Regions from separate parts of the Homo sapiens genome. Here region 2 is linked to region 1. The links are contacts of gene promoters, found by promoter capture Hi-C in blood cells and fetal thymus (Javierre and others, 2016). All regions are on one chromosome and are shown on one strand. Each heading gives the region's core, a stretch centred on a gene start or on the middle of the fragment in contact. The rest is flanking DNA. Distances are from core to core; before and after follow the strand shown.

Region 1 (3,944 bases), core at 586-3,085:
TCTGCGGAGGAAAAAAACTGTACGATCCAGGCTTCTCCTCGCCTTCCTGTGGGTTTTGCCGACAGGCTCCAGAAAACAGTGGGGCTTCCCATCTCTGCGTGCTGACTACCCACGCGCAGGAACGCGCCACGCAGGTGGCGTCGCGGTGCAAATAGCAGAGGGGCGCTGAGCCCCGCAGGCTGCAGGGAGACGGGGTCCTCGGGGGACGCACGGCGAAGCCCCATTCCTCGTTCTTATGGAAGGGGACACCGAGGCTGGGGTGGCTGAGGGCTTGCCCAAGCTCACAGAGCCAGATAAGAACGTCCCTTTTCTGCTCCAGCGCCCCCACTACCGTGGGCGCCTCCTTTTCCAACTCCCCAAACCCTTAGAAAGGAATCCCTTTGTCTCTGCTCCTCCCGAGGGGAGAGGGGCTGGGGCTGTGTCTGACTCCGGGCGAACGCCAGGTGTTGGTAAATTTGGGAGAAGCTGGGAAGGGAGTTAATGAGGTGAGAATGAAGTGAAGGAGAAAAAAAGCGGAGATAGCTGCTCCGCGGGCTGCGGGCGGGCGGGGCAGCCTCTCCTCCGCGGCCCGAGGGCGCCGCCTGGAGGCCAGAGGCAACACCGCGCCAGCCCCGCGAGCTTCCCCGCTTCGCTAAGGCGGGGCTGCCCAGTCCCAGCCCGCATGCTTCCACTCCCACCCTCCAAAGTGGAGCGGCTAAAGACGGACTTGGAGACTCGGAATCCTCACTGTACAAAGAGCCCTACCATCCCGTTTCCCATCCTCCCCTTCCCACACCGAGAAAGCAGGGCCCCGAGCAAGCCCCATTTCCTGATTTCGCCGGACACCCGGCTTGCCGCTCCCTAGCTGAACCCCACCTCTGTGCCTCAGTTTCCTCATCTGTGAGATGAGGCAGCGATAGTGCCTATCTCACGGGGTGCTGGGAGGAGCAGATGCGATCGTGTTAGGGAACTTTTTTTGTTTGTCTGTTTGTTTGAGACGGAGTTTCGCTCTTGTCGCCCAGGCTAGAGTGCAGTGGCGCAATCTCCGCTCGCTGCAACCTCCGCCTCCCGGGTTCAAGCGGTTCTCCTGCCTCAGCCTCCCGAGTAGCTGGGATTACAGGCGCCCGCCACCACGCCCGGCTAATTTTTTGTATTCGTAGTAGAGACGGGGTTTTGCCATGTTGGGCAGGCTGGTCTCGAGCTCCTGACCTCAGGTGACCCGCCCGCCTCGACCTCCCAAAGTGCTGGGATTACAGGCGTGAGCCACCCTGCCCGGCCAGGGAACGTTCTTTATAAAAGCGGAATTGTGCCCGAATTGCCCCAGCTTACTGAGGAGGTAAACTGAAACACGTTTGGGAAGGAGAATTGCCGAGGCCCTATTAACTAATGCTCAATATTGCAGGGATAAGCCCCAGCTCCGGGTCCTCGACTCTGCTGCCTCGCCTGGACTCCTGATTCCTCATTCCTCTCCTTTCCGTCCCAGGTTGCGTCTGTCCGGGTTTCCCCCTCTGTCTCCGTGGCTCTCAGCCTTGTCCTCTGAGCGTCCTTCTCCCTCTCGCTGTGTCTGCCCGGTCTCTCCTGGGTCTCCGGTTCTGCCGCCTCCTGTCCCTCCTTCCGGCTGCCCCGGCCAGAGGGGCTCGAAGGCGCGTTGGGGCCCGGGGCCACGCTGGGAGACACGCCTTCGGCCGCGCCTAATTCGAGCCAGGCGCGGGACGCGTCCCCCGGCCGGGCGGAGCGGGAGGGGACGCCCGCCGCGCTCGGCCTCCCCGGGCCCCGACCCCTCCTTTGTAATTTGAATAAAACGCCTCCCCCGCCCGCGCGCCGCCTTAACCCGCCGCCTCCGCTCTCCCCGGCTGCAGGCGGCGTGCAGGACCAGCGGCGGCCGTGCAGGCGGAGGACTTCGGCGCGGCTCCTCCTGGGTGTGACCCCGGGCGCGCCCGCCGCGCGACGATGAGGGCGCGGCCGCAGGTCTGCGAGGCGCTGCTCTTCGCCCTGGCGCTCCAGACCGGCGTGTGCTATGGCATCAAGTGGCTGTGAGTAGGGACCCCGCGTCCACGCGCACAGGCCAGGGACTGGGGCGGCGGAGGGCGTTTTGGGGTCCCCTGGATGGGGCGAGCGCACCAAGACCCGGGAGCCTAAGCTGGCTTGGCGGTCGTGGGCAAGTCATCCCTCAGCCTCTGTTTCCTCCTCTGTAAAATGTCCCTGCCTCCCGCAGGCTTGCGAAAAGGGAGTGAGACGGGCGTGGACCACAATGGAAGCGCCTGGTCCTGTGCAGCTGACGGTGGCGCAAGGGCCACGGAGTTTCTGGCCACCTCCGCAGGGGCAGATGGAAAAAGACATTCTGTTCAGGGGGCGCAATCCAGAGCGGCCAGCCCAGGAGCGGTCCTTGTCCGTCAGTCTCCTTGACCCTAGCGGGAGTTCCGCTGAGACACTCCTGACCCCTCCACCTGGGCGACCTTGGGAAAGTGTCACTCTACTTCTTGGGGCCTCCTTGTCCTCCTCTGTCACGGGAGGGTGAGACTCCCCACCTCCCTCAAATCAGATGAGAAGAGGCTCCTGAAAGGACCTCAGAAGCTGTCAGATGCCACTGTGCACATGTGCAGGGCATTCCTTTAGATAGAAATTATTCACGCAGGGGTAGGAGGGAGAGAGAGGCTTGGTGCCGAGCTGAAGGGAGTGCCTGCTCAGGGGGCTGGGGGTGGTGAAGAGAGGAGTAAACACCAGCCCCTTCCCGGAGGAGCTGCGCTCTAAGTTGAGAGAGATAAGCCCAGGCTGTAAATAACTCCACAAGTGTCCAAGTGCCCGAGGAGAAACCAGAGCGGGAATCTGGAGGCCTAGAGGAAGGAAGCCCACCTGGTGGGGACACAGATGTGAGACACCGGGAAGCTTTTCCGAGGCTGTGCCTCTGGTGACTGAAGCGCTGCTGGGAGTTGGCTGGTTCGGGCAATGGAGAGGACGCTGTGGGCAGAGGGGCTCCCTGAGAGGGAAAGTCCAGGACAGGACAAGGGTCTGGAATCTGGGGCCAGGGCAGGGAGCCTGCAGATAAGACAGCAGGGGGCAGGTTGTGGGGGCTGGGGAGGGCGCTGCAAAGGGTTTGTGAATTAGTTGGAAGACAGGGTGATAGTGGCTGCGCCGCCAGCAAACAGTCTGGAGGTCACTGGCCCTGCCCCTTCTCAGGCCAAGTTATTGATTAATTGACGATTCGAGGAGGGAACCCCGTCTTCCTGCCTTTCTTGTTTACAAGAAGCCTGGTCTCAGCAATCTCCCAGCCCTGGGCACTAGCTTTTCCCAGCTGTCCCTGAGGAGTTCTGTGAGAAACCAGCCACCTTCCTTTTGCAATGGGGTACCCAGCACTGTTCCAGCTGGCAGGGACCTCCGATCAGCGAGTCCAAGCTCTCTCATCCACCGCCACCATTTTACAGATAAGGATACTAAGGTCCAGGGAAGGAGAGGATTGGCTGAAGGAGCGTCAGAGGCCTTGCAGTGGGCTTGGGTGTCATTTGCCGCCCATAAGAGTCCTGTGGGGTCACTGCCATCATCCCTGCTCCACAGTGGGAACACCGAGACCCTGCAAAGGGCATGATGCACGCAAGCCCCCACGCTGGCCTGTGGTGGGATGGACGGCTGGCTAAACCTGACGTCCATGTCCTCTGTCCCCACTGCAAAGTCAGGCTGCCACAGAAATGGGTACAACTCATTGTGTGCCTTAAATAAGCCCCCAGGCTCTTGGGGGAGATGGACATATAGAAATACAAAGTGGACTATGGTCTGTGTCCTAGCAGAGGGAGCATGGCAGCCCAGAGGAGGAGTGATCAGTTCTATCTAAGGGAGATGCATAGGCCAGGATTGGAAGGACAGGGAGGATTTGGATGGTCAGAGACGGAGTGCAAAGCAGGCGTCCTAGGCGGGAGGCACAGCACGAGCAGAAGCCTGGAGGCCGAACAGCGCATGCGGGGAGACCTGGA
Region 2 (4,044 bases), core at 1,352-3,851, 120 kb before region 1:
ATACGGTGGCACAATCTCAGCTCACTGCAACCTCCACTTCCCAGGTTCAAGTGATTATCATGCCTCAGCCTCCCGAGTAGCTGGGACTACAGGCATGTGCCACCAAACCCAGTTAAGTTTTGTATTTTTGGTATAGACGGGGTTCCACCATGTTGGCCAGGCTGGTCTCAAACTGCTGGCCTCAAGTGATCCTCCTGCCTCAGCATCCCAAAGTGCTGGGATTATAGGCATGAGCCACCACAAGCAGCCTGTAAATGATTTTGAAAAAATAATATTTTGTGACACATGAAAAGTATACAAAATTTAAGTTTCAACATTTGTAAATAAGATTTTATTGGAACACAGGCATACCCATCCGTTTACGTTTGTTTATGACTGCGTTTGAGCTGCAGCAGCATTGTGGATTAGCTACAATGAGACCATATAGTCTGGGTATGGTGGCTCAACGCCTGTAATTCCAGCACTTTGGGAGGCTGAGGCAGGTAGATCACTTGAGCCCAGGAGTTCAAGAGACTGTATAGTCCTCAAGCCTAAAATAGTTACTGTCTATCCTTTACAGAAAAAGGTTGCTGACCTCTGCTTTAAACAATGCTGCAACAAATATCTTTCCCCATTACTGCAAACATGTAAGTAGATCTCTCATAAATAGCCCATTTGGTCTAAGCCAATCTGAGAGACATAGCTCAAAAAGCACATTTCACCGATTTTAGTTAATTTTTCTTTTATTATAAGTGAAGTTAACTAAGCATCTTTTTAAACACATAAAAGTGTTGGGCCATGTGTGGTGGCTCACACTTGTAATCCCAGCAATTTAGGAGGCTGAGACAGGAGGATAATTTGAGCCCAGGAGTTCAAGACCAGCTGGGTAACATGGTGAGACTGCTATCTCTACTAAAACTACTACCCAGGCGGGGTGTGGTGGCTCACGCCTGTAATCCCAGCATTCTGGGAGGCGGAGGCAGGAGGATCACTTGAGGTCAGGAGTTCAAGACCAGCCTGGCCAACATGGCAAAACTCCGTCCCTACTAAAAATACAAAAATTAGCCAGATGTAGTGGCGGGCACCTGTAATCCCAGCAACTCAGGAGGCTGAGGCAGGAGAATCGCTTGAACCCAGGAGGTGGAGGTTTCAGTGAGCCGAGATTGTGTCACTGCACTCTAGCCTGAGTGACAAGAGCGAAACTCCATCTCAAAAATAAAATAAAATAAAATAAAATAACTACCCGGTGTGGTAGCACATGCCTGTAGTCCCAGCTACTAGGGAGGCTGAGGCAGGAGGATTGCTTGAATCTGGAAAGTCAAAGCTTCAATTAGTCATGATTGTTCCACTGCACTCCAGCCTGGGTGACAAAGTGAGACCCTGTCTCAAAAAAAAAATTATATACATATATTTATATGTGTGTGTATATATATATATCATGTGTGTGTTTCCTCTTTTCTGTAAAATGTTTTTTTCAATTTGATAAAGAATATGGGCCAGGTGTGGCGGCTCACGCCTGTAAACCCAGCACTTTGGGAGGCCACGGTGGGTGGATCACTTGAGCCCAGAAGTTCGAGATAAGCCTGGGCAACATAGCGAGATCCTATCTCTACAAAAAGTTTAAAAATTAGCCAGGCATGGCTGGGTGCGGTGGCTCACACCTGTAATCTCAGCACTTTGGGAGGCTGAGGTGGGTGGATCACAAGGCCAGGAGATCGAGACCATCCTGGCTAACACGGTGAAACCCCGTCTCTGCTAAAAATACAAAAAATTAGCGGGGCATGGTGGCGGGAGCCTGTAGTCCCAGCTACTTGGGAGGCTGAGGCAGGAGAATGGTGTGAACCCAGGAGGCGGAGCTTGCAGTGAGCCGAGATCGCAACACTGCACTCCAGCCTGGGCGACAGACTCTGTCTCAAAAAAAAAAAAAAAAAAAAATTAGCCAGGTGTGGTGGTGCGTGCCTGTAGTCCTGGCTACTCAGGAGGCTGAGGTGGGAGGATCACCTGAGCCTGGAAGGTTGAAGCTGCAATGAACTGTGATCATGCCACTGCACTCCAGCCTGAGCAACAGAGTGAGACCCTGTCTCCAAAAAAAACAAAAAATATGAGCAAAAGTATTTTTCTTATTGCTTTACAAAAACAAGGGGGAATTAGCATTTTGTGTCTTGCATCCAAATGTTTTCTCCATTTGTTACTTGACTGACTTTTTTTTTTTTTTTTTTTCATGTAATAATGCTCACCTTGTCAGTGAAGGGAAGGTGGGTCCAGGTGCTGACAGTGAAGGGGATGGGGGACCTTGGCCAGGCAGACAATACTTGTTTCTGGATCCCCTACCTTGTTCCCAGCCCTGTCCCAGGCACTGGGGTCCAGCGGTGAGTGAGGCGGGCGGAGGCTCTGCCATCATGGCAGTGATGGGTAAGCAGGGCAGTACTAAGCGCAGGTGTTACAGGGACACCTCCCCAGCTGGACCTGAAGAATGAAGAGGGACTACCCAGGGGTCCGGGCTGCAGCGGGAGGATTCTGAGCAATAACTCGTACAAGGTTAGATCTTGGAGAGACAGAGGTTTCAGAGTGCAGGTTCTTGGAGCCTAAGCTCTACTGAGTGGTGATGAAGCACCTGGTATGGCCACACATGAAAGGCAAGGACAGGAGTCCCAGGAGTCTCGTCAAGTCTCTGAGGTGCACAGAAAGCTGCCCTGTGAGGGTCTAGAGAGTTTCACCTCTTTGTATGGAGGAGCAAAGTACCTCTCAGGGCTGCAGCTACCCTGCCAACAGACTTAAACTAGGGTCTGAGGGTTTAGAATTGGCCAGGGCGGAGGTGAAGCATTGCTCCGCACCAGGAACAGCAAAGGGCGTGAGGACAAGTCTGGCCTCTCTTGCAACGAAGACCTCTCCCTGCCCTTCCACAGCCCTAGCCTCCACTTCAGTTCTACCTCTCCAGAGTATCAAAGGGAGAGACAACTATGCCTGCAAAGACCAAGCGGCAGCCTGGGAGGGGAGGAGGGGGCTGGAGGGAGATGTGGCTAGAGGGTGAGACCAGCCCCTCAGGCCTTTAACATCAGGCTAAGCCAGCAGCCTACCAGCTGCTCCCCTGCCCAAAGCACCACCCCCAGAGCTCCCTGCAGGCGATGACAAGGATGAAGTGGGGAGGCAGGGGGAGAGTCAAGAGCTCACAAAGGTTCTGCTGTGCTTGACCAGGGCCTCCGCCAGAGCCAGATTGTTTGCTTGCTTGGAGGGAAGGATCTGATTTAAAAAGGTGGTGGCCCTGGGGTTCAGGGCCAGGCCTGCTGGCTGCCATCCTACACAGCAGCCCCACTCCAAACTCTCCATCCTGGGGCCCCCTCATTCCTCTTTACTTTGGTGTTCCCAGTTAGACCCAAGTAGGACTCCACAGCTTTGGGCAGAGGACTTACAAAGCAGCAGGGGCCAGTGCTCACACTTGGGACTCTAGATCACTGGGGGACCTGCAGGACCAGCCTGCTGGGGACTTCATGGAGAAGGAGGTGCGTGGAGGTGGCCCTTCACTGAGCACCTGCTGTATGCTGGGCATTGGGCAGGGCACTTCGTTTATGGGGTTCCCTTTTCATCCTTTAAGCAACAGTAGGTATTATTGTCTCCATTTTACAGACAAGAAAAGAGAGTCCTAGAAAGGCTAAGGGGACTCGCCCAGGTTTACACAGTGAGTCAGTGGTAGGGCTAGAATTCTAACTCAGGTTGGCCCCACCTGTGAATCTAATCTGTGCTTAACCCCTACACTGCTTTGTGCAGGACATAACCCTGTCTTGCACATGTCTGGCACAGAGTGAAGGTCCCATCATGTTGACTTTATCATGCACTTTCTCAGCTGGAGCTGTGGGCCTCACAGCAGCCCTTCGGGGTCAGTAATGCTTCTCTCGCTTTCATGATGTGGAGGCTCAAGCTTGCAGAAGTTGAGCAACTTGCCCAGGGTCACACAGCTAGTCGCAGAGGGTCAGGGAAGTCGGGGAAGTTCAAAGAAATGTGGAGTAGAGTGGGTTTGCCCAAGGAATGACAGGAATGTTCAAGGAACTGAAAGCTGGAAGTGTCTGC

Evidence for each region. The method cuts DNA at HindIII sites, captures the fragments that hold promoters and counts their contacts. A CHiCAGO score of 5 or more calls a contact.
Region 2: a contact is called between a fragment that was not itself captured here and the fragment with the promoter of WNT11 in region 1, in 8 of 17 cell types (non-activated CD4 T cells, naive CD8 T cells, naive CD4 T cells and 5 more). The highest score is 8.5, in non-activated CD4 T cells.

Annotation. Positions count from the first base shown.
Region 1 is chr11:76,204,393-76,208,336 of GRCh38, reverse strand. It overlaps WNT11 (Wnt family member 11), which reads left to right and starts at 1,835. Exons shown (of 5, transcript NM_004626.3): 1 at 1,835-2,012. The coding sequence starts at 1,930. RefSeq lists silencers at 483-702, 1,683-1,922 and an enhancer at 711-1,378. The HindIII fragment of the contact is 7,460 bases long and covers 1-2,867 here.
Region 2 is chr11:76,329,190-76,333,233 of GRCh38, reverse strand. No RefSeq gene overlaps it. Among named protein-coding and RNA genes, the nearest start is that of THAP12, 50 kb to the left of the region's middle. The HindIII fragment of the contact is 2,592 bases long and covers 1,306-3,897 here.